Linked DNA regions of Homo sapiens: region 2 is linked to region 1. The links are contacts of gene promoters, found by promoter capture Hi-C in human tissues and cell types (Jung and others, 2019). All regions are on one chromosome and are shown on one strand. The core of a region is centred on a gene start or on the middle of the fragment in contact, and the rest is flanking DNA. Distances in the headings are between cores, read along the strand shown. Region 1 holds the start of C9orf153 (chromosome 9 open reading frame 153). Region 2 has its middle 47 kb from the start of C9orf153.

Evidence for each region. The method cuts DNA at HindIII sites, captures the fragments that hold promoters and counts their contacts. A contact is called where the count stands out against the background at its distance.
Region 2: a fragment that was not itself captured here is called in contact with the fragment with the promoter of C9orf153 in region 1 in 1 of the 25 tissues and cell types used here (H1 embryonic stem cells).

The regions. Positions count from the first base shown.
Region 1 is chr9:86,258,407-86,264,794 of GRCh38, reverse strand. C9orf153 (chromosome 9 open reading frame 153) reads left to right here and starts at 5,138. Exons shown (of 4, transcript NM_001276366.4): 1 at 5,138-5,245. It overlaps ISCA1 (iron-sulfur cluster assembly 1), which reads left to right. Exons shown (of 4, transcript NM_030940.4): 4 at 1-249. It also overlaps the pseudogene RN7SKP264. The HindIII fragment of the contact is 6,872 bases long and covers 1,569-6,388 here.
Region 2 is chr9:86,209,290-86,215,733 of GRCh38, reverse strand. No RefSeq gene overlaps it. Among named protein-coding and RNA genes, the nearest start is that of C9orf153, 47 kb to the left of the region's middle. The HindIII fragment of the contact is 3,422 bases long and covers 1,125-4,546 here.

The sequences.
Region 1 (6,388 bases), core at 3,889-6,388:
TGATATATATGCTTTTTTTGAAAGCTGATTCTCATGAATTCAAGTAGCTGAGTTCCTTTATGTTTCGTTTATTCACTAAAGTAGCTGACACAAAACACACCAAAACCTAGAGCGGTAGTTTTATGTAAATGCTCATGAGTTTGTATCAATAATATAATTGTTGATCCACTTATAATTCGTGCAACACTGTATGTATGTAGAGATTGAGTTGTCAATTAAAAAAAATGTGGCCTCTTTGTGATCATAAAATTGCCTTTTATTATTGAGGGGAGAGGGTTTGGGACAGCAGCTGCTAAAGCCAATAAAAAAATGACTGTCTTTTTTGCCTAGGCTGCCTGTCACCAGGCGTCCTCCCTACCTGACACTGTTTCGTCCAGAGTCCTAGCTGCTGATTCTCCACACAGCCCTGGAGAGACCATCTCAGGTGTCTCTCATCTCCCTGGCTTTGCTAGCCTCTTTTTCCTCCTTGTTCCCCATGAGGGTCATCCATCCCCCAAGCAGGTTCCTCATGTCCTTAGGACGAGAGCATTATCACTACCTGGAGTGCTTTTCCCTCTGTCATCTGAGCTTTTATGTGAACCTCCTCCAAGAAGGTTCTCAGCTGTTCACTCAGGCACAGTAGTGAGCACTGACTCTCCACTAGCCCTGAGCTTTCACAGGTCATCAAAGACAGTCCCAACCTCAGAGAGCTTCAAGTCGGCAAATGAGACACCAGCGAAGAGCATCGATCACCATGGTAAGTGTTGTGAGCAGCTGGTGGTGATGGCATGCTCACTGCATGCCAGGAAGTGTTCTAATAAACATCATCTCAGCAATCGAGAATGCAGGTCTGACTACTGTCTTTTTCATAGATAAACCAAAACACAGCTTAAATAAAATAGCTAAGGTGGCCAAGTCAGAATCGTACCCTGTGTCTATGGCTCCAGATGCTGTGCTCCCAGCTGTTAGGCCATACTGCGTGTCCTGATAGAACCAACGGAGTGCGCTTCTAAAAAGGTAGCCTACAGGTTATGACCCCTGCGCCTAGTTGAAAGAGATTTGGGGAAGAGGGAAGACAGTGAACAGTACTAAAGAGGGTTGAAAAAACACAGAGGGCGTGTTCTCACTCATAGGTGGGAATTGAACAATGAGAACACTTGGACACAGGGCAGGGAACATCACACACCAGGGCCTGTCGTGGGGGAGGGATAGCATTAGGAGATATACCTAATGTAAATGACGAGTTAATGGGTGCAGCACACCAACACGGCACATGTATACATAAGTAACAAACCTGCACGTTGTGCACATGTACCCTAGAACTTAAAGTATAATAAAAAGTAATAATAAAAACACAGTGAAGCTAAGCACTCCGGAGAATGAGGCCCGGAGAGGAGCAGTAAGGCTGGAGGGCAAGGTAGATGCCTGGGGCGTTTGGGCTTTCTGCAAGTTCTGTAGGCCTTGGGGCCACTGAAAGTGTTTAGGGGCACTCATTAGAAAATTGCATTTGGAAGTGTTTCCATGGCCTGGACTAGGCTGGCTGATGAGGACAGGAAGAAGCTACTGCAAAGCCCGCTATAATAGGACCTGAGCAGGGACCCGTGAGAGAAAGGCTTAGGAGGCAGAAAGGATGGTACTCTATCCGTAGCCCAACCTCATCAGCCAGTGTTCTGTGACTCATTTCTATTTGTACAGGCAGTACTTGTACTGTTCATTGGTTTTGGTTCTTGTCTCTTGTACAATATTGAAAGGATCTTGGAGACAGGAACGCAATTGCTTCTTCAGTGTTCGTTTAGCATCGGGCAGGTCAGAATTATTTTTGCAAAATGGCTCCATCCTACGGCCATGTCACACCATGTCATGCAAGCCTTAGCCCTCACCAGGAAGGTTCTGTCTGTTGCACCACATTCATCCACATTCTACTCACAAACACTGGTCATTGTGTTAGGCGATTTGGTAGTGCCCCTGGGTGATGTGTAGGCCAGCAGATCTGTCGCTTAGCAGCAGACTTCAGGCTTTTCATGATCAGTTATAAGCCCACTCTTCCACATCAGGATGCTAAATTGAATGAATCAGGCCATGAGGACAGAGGCCTGCTGTGCTTCATTGTTGCAGGGCGCCTCCCAGCCCTCTGTCACCGGACCCACCAGAATGATTTTTTTTTTCTCAAACAGGAAAGGGTTGGGAACAATCCCTACAAGATCAGATGTCCCTAAGATTTCCAGTATTTCCTAGGTTTCACTCAGCAGGAAATACCTCAAAAAAAAAATGGCCTTTCTTGTCATGTTTTGATACCTGAGAAATCAGGAAATGGAAAAGCCTGTGCTAAGCTGAGCTGTAAGCAACATCAGTGTCTCATTTGAGCCTTAGAGCAGACGTGGCATGGGCCAGACACAGCATCGACCCAGAATAAACCCAAATACAGCTCACCTGAGCTCAGTGCAGGCTGGGAGGCTGGCCTGGAAAGGTGTAGGTTTGGGGTGAGATATGCCTGGATTTGAATCATGGTTCCTGTCATTTTGTAGCCATGTAACCTTCTGTAAAACAGTCTCAGAATTTGGGGGGATGTGATGAGCTAACTACACATAAATGGCATCCTGCTAAGGGTAGACGTTTCATACGTTGTAATTCTTGTCCCTTTTAGCCATTTTCTTGTGCAAAAAGGGATAATATGTTAATGGATTATCAATCAAAGCAAGAGCTTAGGGAAAGAGTTTCAACACATTTAGGGAGTTATTGTCCCATATTCAAATCTGGGGGAAATTTGCTGTATTTCCTTCAAATAAAAGACCACAGTAACTTCTTTGAAAAGAACCATAAATTTCAAATATAAACATTCGGAGAAATTTCATTCTCTTAGTAGCTGATTAACTATAGACAAACCTGCCTTAATTGAGGAGCTGTTTTGAAAGCTCATTCCCCAGTAGGAACTCAATCTCCTGGTCCCAGGTGGGTCTCATCAGACAAGAGATGGAGGAGAGAGGGAGGTGCACCCTAGCCTCAGCCTCTATTGAAATACAGAGCCATGTGGTGGTTACATCACTGTGGACTCCCATCCTCCCTTGCTGCTGTGCAGTGTTCAGGGAAGGCTTCATTTCACACCAACCTTTAGCGGGGCAAGGGCTCTGTACCAGCGGTACTCAGCTTAAAACTAGCCTACTTTGAGGGCCTTGATGGGTTACTGCTTTTACTTCCACTAGCTAGTGATTCCGAAACTTTTCATGATGAAGTGCCCATTTATTGGGCCAGGTGTGTTGGCTCAAGCCTGTAATCCCAGCACTTTGGGAGGCAAAAGTGGGCAGATCACCTGATCCCAGGAGTTCAAGACCAGCCTGGGCAACGTGGTAAAACGCCGTCTCTACAAAAAATACAAAAATTAGCTGGTCATGGTGGTACATGCCTGTAGTCCCCGTTGCTCAGGAGACCAAGGTGAGAGGATCACTTTAGCCCAGGAGGTAGAGGTTGCAGTGAGCCAAGATCGTACTACTGCACTCCAGCCTGGATGACAGAGCAAGACCCTGTCTCAAAAAAAAAAAGAATAAAAAATAAAGTACTCATTTTTTGTTCTCCATGGATTCTATGTCTTGAAGCAGTCCTCAAACTTTAAGGTGCAAATAAGTCACCTGGGGGTCTTGTTAAAAAGCAGATTCTTGGCCGGGCGCAGTAGGTAGCTCACGCCTGTAATCCAGCACTTTGGGAGGCTGAGGCGAGTGGATCACTTGAGGTCAGGAGTTCGAGACCAGCCTGGCCAACATGGTGAAACCCCATCTCTACTAAAAATACACAAAAATTAGCCAGACATAGTGGTGGGCGCCTCTAGTCCCAGCTACTCAGGAGGCTGAGGCAGGAGAATCACTTGAACCTGGGAGGTGGGGAGGTTGCAGTGACATGAGATGGCACCACTGCATTCCAGCCTGGGTGACAGAGCAAAACTGTCTCAAAAAAAAAAAAAAAGCAGATTCTGTAACAAAGGTCCAGGGCAGAGCCTGAGATTCTGCATTAGTAGCAAAGGCCCAAGTGAAGCCAGTGCTGTTGCTCTGCAGAACACCTTTGAATGGCAGGCTTTTGAAATATTTTCTCATTGGAAGAATCTTCTGTATTTATTAAATTCTGCTTAAAATTATTAACTTTCTTGTATATCCATGTTCATAACAGCATTATTCACAATAGCCAAAAGGTAGGAACAACCCAGGTGTCCATTGACAGGGGACAGGGGGTGAGAAATTTATTTCATGGACACAGATTCAGGTGGAAAAGATGAAAAAGCTCTGGAGATGGAAGGCAGTGCAGGTGGCACAACAATGTGAATGTACTGAATGCCACAGAACTGTGTACCTAAAACGGCTTAACACGGTAAGCTTCATGTTATGGATATGTTGCCACGGTGTTCACAAGTTATTAACTCAATCAGACTATTTAAATGCCCAGTAGATTGCATTCTGGGGAAATGGCTGTTTCAGGAAAATTTTCAGTGATTGCCACAGGGACCTCCCATGGGTGGGGAATGGAGTCTGGAGCACGGCTGCATGGCTCATGGAGAGAATTTGCACAGCCAGGTAGCCCCTGGTCCACTTCTACCCATATCTGGCCAGGTGCAAAGAGCATAGCTGTACCTTCTATTATCTCTCTCAATTTCTTATTTGCACTTTGCCCATGTCTATAGAAGGAAAAACTTGACTGATTAAAAATTACATTCACGGCACCTGTAGTCCCAGCTACTCAAGAGGCTGAGGCAGGAGAATGGCGTGAACCCGGGAGGCGGAGCTTGCAGTGAGCTGAGATCGTGCCACTGCACTCCAGCCTGGGCGACAGAGTGAGACTCCATCTCAAAAAAAAAAAAAAATTATACTCACGCCAGCCTGGGCAACATGGCGAAACCCCATCTCTAGAGAAAAATACATAAATTAGCCAGGCGTGGTGGCGTGCGCCCGGGGTCCCAGCCACAAGCTGAGGCAGAAAAAAAAGTAGCTACTCAGCTACTCAATGTTCACTCTTTAAAAATGCTTTTCCATCATCCTCCACCGTCTCCCACCCCCCACCAAGCAGCAAGATAATTCCCCATCGCTTAGCATCATATAGCTGCTTATGTGACCTTGAGAATGTCCACATGTCACAATGGACAGTCACTTAACACTAAGCAATGACACATGCTAGGAGTGGGGCTGGGCCTTGGGGCTGCTGGATGAATGAGACCCAGCCTCTGCCCTGGGAGTGCAGAGACTCAAGACAGATATGACCACGTGAAGAGACAACTGTAAAACAAGTGGTAAGTGCATCTACAGCCATAGCCACGGGGCACTGTGAGACCACAGAGCAGTGAAAACTAAGCCAGTCTAGGCTTGGCAAGGAGAGATGGAGTGAGGTGGGCAGTGGCTAAGGTGGGAAGACCAGAGCTGGGAGGTGAGATGGGATTTGGGTTTATCTTTACCAATAAGGATGAGGAGCCTGTTTCATCTTCCTCCAGGCAGGTCACAGAAGCTGGAACCAGTTGATCGGGCCGAGCCTGCAGACTCCCTCATCCTTTCCGGCCTTCAACACTGATAGCTCTGCTCTCTCTCCCCAACCTCAGTGCCTTCATCCTCCCCTGTGTTCCCATGGATGCTTGGTCCTGACTTTGCACCTCTCCCTCACACCCAGTGTCCTTTGTTTTTCCTCTGCCACTTGGGAGGCTGATGGGAGGATCACCTGAGCCTGGGAGGTTGAGGCTGCAGTGACCTGTGTTCACGCCACTGCACTCCAGCTGGGGTGACAGAATGAGAGCCTATCTCAAAGAAAAAAAAAAAACACTGCTCTGTATGATACTATCAAAGTGGATATATGTAATTGCACATTGTGAAATCTCATAGAATGCACAACACCAAGAATGGACCGTAATGTAAACTGTGAAGTATGGGCTTTAGTTAGTAACCATGCATTGATACCGGCTCATCAAGTATAACAAACGTACCACACAAACATAAGTAGTAAAAAAAAAAGGGGAAAGCTGTGTGTATGGTGCAGAGAAGGGGGGTTGTGGGAACATTGTACTTTCTAACCAATTCTAAAATTGCTCTAAAATTTAAGTATATTAATATTTTTAAAAAAAGTTTCGTTAAATTAGCAATATAATAGTTGCTTACCCAAGAAAATTCAGGTTTTCAAATATTGCGTTTTAAAAGCAATTATTTCCGGATGTGAGGGTGATCTGGCTGCAACATCTGTCACCCCACTGATGGCCAGGGTTAATTTGTCTGATCTGGCTGGCTAGGTGGATGTCTCCTTCCTCCCTCATCCGTCCACATGCGTCCTTCCAGACGCTGCGGACAACCTTCCCCAACAGAGGAGGGCCGTTCTTTGGGCAAGGGTATATGAGTAGCTGCACTCCCCTGCTAGAACCTCCAAACAAGCTCTCTAAAAGTAATTACTTCAA
Region 2 (6,444 bases), core at 1,586-4,085, 47 kb after region 1:
CAAGTAGGTGGGATTACAGGCATGTGCCACCACATCCGGCTAATTTTGTATTTTTAGTAGAGACGGGGTTTCACCATGTTGGCCAGGCTGGTCTCAAACTCCTGACCTCAGGTGATCCACCCGCCTCGGCCTCCCAAAGTGCTGGGATTACAGGCATGAGTCACCATGCCCAGATGAGTATAGCTTTTTTATCTATATCAATTATGTCAAATTTGTTAATCACGTTGTTCAAATCTTCAACAGGTCTACTGATTTTTGTTTATCAGTTATCAGACAAGGAGTGTGTTAAAAAGTCCCCATTCTCATTCAAGGAGCCTCTACTTTTACTTTCATTTCTATTAATTTTATTGTGTCATTTATAAGACTCTGAAAATGTTATAGCTTCTGGATGAATGAAAACTTTTATGATTAATAAATAATCTTTACCTCTAATGATGCTTCTTAACATTGACTTTGTTTATATTAATACGGGCATATCAACTTTCTCTTAGTTGATGTTTATATGCTGTACCTTTTCTATTCTTTTACATTGAACTTTTTTGTATTCTTATATTTAGGTAATGTCTCCGGTAAACAGCATGTTGTTGTTGTTTTTCTTTTCTTTTTTTTCCTTTTTTTTTTTTTTGAGATGGAGTCTCACTCTGTCACCCAGGCTGGATTGCAGTGACGTGATCTTGGCTCACTGCAACCTCCTCCTCCCGGGTTCAAGCGATTCTCCTGCCTCAGCCTCCTGAGTAGCTGGGATCACAGGAGCACACCACCCCACCCAGCTAATTTTTATATTTTTAGTAGAGACGGGGTTTCACCATGTTGCTCAGGCTGGTCTCAAACTCCTGACCTCATTATCCACCCCCCTCAGCCTCCCAAAGTGCTGGGATTATAGGCATGAGCCACCACGCCCAGCCTGTTGGAGATTTTTTAATCCAGACTTAGAACCTTTGGCTTTTTTTTTTTTTAAGACAGAGATGAAGTCCTACTCTGTCACCCAGGCTGGAGTGCAGTGGTGCAACCATAGCTCACTCAGCCTTGAACTCCTGGGCTCAAATGATCCTCCTGCCTCAACTTCCTGAGTAGCTGGGACTACAGGTGCATGCCACTGTGCCCAGCTAATTTTTTTTAATTTTTCATAGAGATAAGGTTTCACTATGTTGCCCAGGCTGGTCTCAAACTCCTGGCCTTAAGCAATCCTGCTCCCTCAGCCTTCCAAAATGCTGAGATTACAGGTGTGAGCCACCACTCCTGGCCAATTTTTGGCTTTTAACTGAGGCATTTATTCCATTTGCACTTAATTTAGTTATTGATATACACCATTTAAACATCTTATTACTTGCTTTCTGTTTTTCTCGCCTTAACTATCTCAATTTTTCTTGCCAGTTTTTGGATTTGTTTACTTTTTAATTTATTTTCCTTCTTCAATGCTTGTTAACTATACATTATCGGCCTATTATTTTAGTGGATACCTTAGATATTACAACAAACATCTTTTTTTTTTTTTTTTTGCTGTTGATGCCCAGGTTGGAGTGTGATGGTGCAATCTTGGCTCACTGCAACCTCCGCCTCCCAGGTTCAAGCGAATTTCCTGTCTCAGCCTCCTAAGTAGCTGGGATTACAGGCATGTGCCACTAGGTCCAGCTAATTTTGTATTTTTAGTAGAGACAGGGTTTCTCCATGTTGGTCAGGCTGGTCTTGAACTTGTGACCTCAGGTGATCCTCCCCCCCGGCCTCCCAAAGTGTTGGTATTACAGGCGTGAGCCACCATGCCCAGCCTCAAACATCTTTAACTTAGAAGAAAACATTGTATACTAGTGCTTTTACCTCATCTCAGACATGCTACTGCCTTAGGACCCTTTAACTCCATTTATCACCATTCCAAATTATGGACTATTGTTTGTGTGTGTGTGTGTGTGTGTGTGCACGCGCATATATATCTTTTTTTTTTGAGATGGAGTCTCACTCTGTCACTCATGCTGGAGTGCAGTGGCGCAATCTCGGCTCACTGCAACTTCCATCTCCCAGGTTCAAGCAGTTCTTCTGTCTCAGCCTCCCAAGTAGCTAGGACTACAGGCGCGTGCCACCACACCTGGCTAATTTTTGTATTTTTAGTAGAGATGGGGTTTCACCATATTGGCCGGGCTGGTCTCAAACTCCTGACCTCATGATCCGTCCACCTCAGCCTTCCAAAGTGCTGGGATTACAGGCGTGAGCCACTGTGCCTGGCTGTTTTTGTATATTTTAATTCTATGTAGAGAGACCTGCCCCGTAACCAATTTTGGGGCTCAGACAAAGAGTACAGATGGAGACCTACACACCATATATCTAGATAGTTTAAAGAATAAACCAAGCTAACAAACTATTGAATAAAATGGGTGCTATTTTCTACATTTACCAATAATCCTTCATGACAACTTGAAGGGCCAAATTCAAATTCTAAATTCTAATTTAGAGCTCTCTGTAGTTCTGTGCTAAAATGGTATGGCACAAGAGAGATAGCCTCTGGTACCTGATGCTCAGTCATCCTTCTCTTCCCACTTCCAGCTCTAACACTGTGAGGGCCTCATGCATGTGCGTATGGACAACCCAACTCTGCAGACACTGGCTACAAACAGCCTCCACGTGTCCACTCCTAGGTGCTAGGTGCTGGCAGTGTGGTTTGCCCTTGGAAGGAAGGAGCCAGGGAAAGGGCCCACACAAGCCGGGAAGAATAATCAGATCATTTTGAGTGGGAAATTCTGAGGTCTCAGATACCTAACTGTGCTCCAGATGGAGTGATAAAGGCTCCAGGTGGGCATGTTCCCTGGGCCCCCTGGATTCCTCATCCTGTAAGGTAGGGCATGGCTGAAATAAGGCCAGAGTTCAGGGCCCAGGGAAAAGTACCTCTTGCCAATGTCTAAGCTTAATGACTATATGTATAATATATATTTGCTAATATGTAATAATATTATATATCCCTACAAGCAACTATAGTGACTGTATGTATCTGAAAACGTATTTTCTAATATATAATAATAAGTATCCCCACAAGACATTATTTACAGTTTTATAAGGTTTTATATAGTTACTATTCATTTAGATTTACCTACATATTCTTTCTTTCTTTCTTTCTTTCTTTTTCTTTCTTTCTTTCTTCTCTTTGATGGAGTCTCGCTCTGTCACCCAGGCTGGAGTGCAGTGGTGAGATCTCAGCTCACTGCCACATCTGTCTCCTGGGTTCAAACAATTCTCCTGCTTCAGCCTCCCAAGTAGCTGGGATTACAGGCGCCCACCACCATGCCCGGCTAATTTTTTGTATTTTTAGTAGAGATGGGGTTTCGCCATGTTGGCCAGGCTGGTTTCGAACTCCTGACCTTAGGTGATCCGCCCACCTCAGCCTCCCAAAGTGCTAGGATTATAGGCGTGAGCCACCACACCCGGCCTTGTTCTTAATTTCTTTCTACATCTCTAAGCAAGTTTTTATCTGGCTTAATTTTCCCTCTGCCTGGAGGACAATCTTTAATATTTCCTTTAGAGTGGGTAGGCTGGCAATGAATTTTTCAATTTTTTGTTCATTCAAAAATGTTTGGGCCGGGTGTGGTGGCTCACACCTGTAATCCCAGCACTTTGGGTGGCCAAGGCAGGTGGATCACAAAGTCAGGAGATCAAGACCATCCTGGCTAACACAGTGAAAGTCCATCTCTACTAAAAAAGCAAAAAATTAGCCAGGCGTGGTGGCATGTGCCTGTAGTCCCAGCTACTCAGGAGGCTGAGGCAGGAGAATCGCTTGAACCCGGGAGGCAGAGGTTGTGCCACCATACTCCAGCCTGGCCAACAGAGTGAGACTCCCTCTCAAAAAAAAAAAAAAAAGTTTGTATATCACTTTCATGTGGGAAGGATATTTTCCTTGGATCCAGAATTCTAGGTTAGAAGTTATTTTCTGTCTGCTCTTTGAAGATGCCATGCCATTGCTTCCTTCCGCTTTGTTTCTTTGGACTGTTCAGCAATGTTACTGTTTTTTGGGTTGTGTTTTGTTTCGTTTTGTTTTGTTTGAGACAGAGTCTCAGTCTCTCAGTCTGTCGCCCAGGTTGGAGTGCAGTGGCAGGATCTCTGCTCACTGCAACATCCGCCTCCCGGGTTCAAGCGATTCTCCTACCTCAGCCCCCCCGAGTAGCTGGGATTACAGGCACCCGCTACCACGCCCAGCTAATTTTTGTATTTTTAGTAGTGACGGGATTTCACCATGCTGGCCAAGCTGGTCTCGAACTCCTGACCTCAAATGATCCACCTACCTCAGCCTCCCAAAGTGCTGGGATTACAGGCATGAGCCACCACGCCTGGCAGCAATGTTACTGTTTTAACTGTAAAAAGCAAATAGATACTTGATATTAGGATGATAATCAACCAATTTTTAAAAATAGAAGATTTGAGCAGAATTTTTACCAAAGATGAAGTGATATTATATCGCATATTAAGAGAATTTCATAAAATTTGGTTCACACAGCAGGCCTTGTAGTAAGGCATCCTAGGTTGAAATTTTGGCTCTTTGATCCTCACAAATCATTTAAGCTCTCTCTATCTCAATATCTTCATTTGTGAAATAAAGATAATAATTGTGAAGGTTGCTCTTAGGATTCAATAATTTAAGATGTGGAGTGCTTAGGAGAGTGCCTGGTACATGGTAAGCACTTTAAAAATGTAAGCTGGCTTTGCTGCTAGTGTGTATTATTATCTTTATTAGTAGTAGTAAAATTAATAGTAGTACGAGTAGTTGCATTGAGAAAGTTCCTCTTGGTTTTGGTTTCCATACTCCTTGAGGCCAAATTTCAGAAAGATAAGACTACCTTTGCCTTCTTCTGGGTTACTATTATCCCTGGATTATTTTAACCAATATTTTCCCCAGTTCCTTAAACAGTTATTTTTTTCTATTCTGTGTTGTATGGTTTAGCATGGTGCTTGGTTACAAGTATGAAAATGCATGGATGCCAGCACCTAAAATACACATTAGTTTATTGTGTCCAGCAAAATGTGCAGAGGTCAGCAGGGCTGTGCAGCGCGGTAGGCTCAGAATACCACCAGTCTCCCAGACTCCTGTCTTTCTCTCATCTCATTTTTTTATTTGTGGTTTCATTGGCATAGTTATAAGGTGGCTGCTATCCCCACAGACATTGCATCAGTGCGCCAGACAGGAAGAATGAAAAAGCATGAAAAGCCATCTTCTCGAAGTTCCCTGTTTTATTTTGGAAGGGAGGACCTTCTCATCAGCATTCTGGATACATATCATATCCAGAACCATGTAGTGTGACCACCCCCAGCTGTAAGGGACTCTGGAATTACGGGTGTGTGTTTGTTTGAGACAGAGTCTTGCTCCGTTGCCCAGGTGGAGTGCAGTGGCACCATCTTGGCTCACTGCAACCTCTGTGTCCTGGGTTCAAATGATTCTCCTGCCTCAGCCTCCCATGTAGCTAGGACTATAGGCACGTGCCACCACGCCTGGCTAATTTTTGTATTTTTAGTAGAGATGGGGTTTTGCCATGTTGGCCAGGCTGGTCTTGAACTCCTGACAAGTGATCCGCCTGCCTCAGCCTCCCAAAGTGCTAGGATTACAGCCATGAGCCACCGTGCCTGGCCTGGAATTGGGTGTTTTTAATTGGGTACTATGCAACTCCAAACTAAATTGGAGCTCTTGAGAAAGGGAAGAAATGGGAATGGATGGTTACAGGGGAGGTACCCAGCACTGTCTGCCACACAGGGGTACATTTAAAACTTCCGGCCAGGTGCGGTGGCTCACACCTGTAATCCCAGCACTTTGGGAGGCTGAGGCGGGGGGGATCACGAGGTCAGGCGTTCAAGGCCAGCCTAGCCAACATGGTGAAACCCCATCTCTACTAAAAATACAAAAATTAGCCCAGTATGGTGGCGCGCATCTGTAATCCCAGCTACTTGGGAGGCTGAGGCAGGAGAATTGCTTGAACCCGGGAGGCGGAGGTTGCAGTTAACCAAGATCACGCCATCGCACTCCAGCCTGGGCAACAAGAGCAAGACTCCGTCTCAAAAAACAAAAAACAAACGAACAAAACTCCTCAAATCCTGTTTAACAATGCGGTATTTAGTAGAAGTTCACAAAACTCTAGTTTTCTAGTCTCTCCACACCCGCTAGCTTCACCCTGTGCCCAGTGCCCTCAACCATTACCATCCAGCCACACCAGCTTCCTTGTAACTCACTAAGCTTGGGACCTTTCCCATATGGCTGCTTCCTTCTCTCTCTTCACAGCTCAGATTCTTTACTTTTTATGTTTTGTTTATTTCACACTTTACTCTCATTGTGTTGGGTTAGGCAAAGAGTCATGCACCAACGTATAGAACATATTATTCTGTTGATTTCAGACAGAATTGGGATCCAGGTTCTAGTTGTTGCTAAGTTCACAATCTGGATCAGAATCAGAAGAGGTGGACCACTGCTTCAGAGGGCTT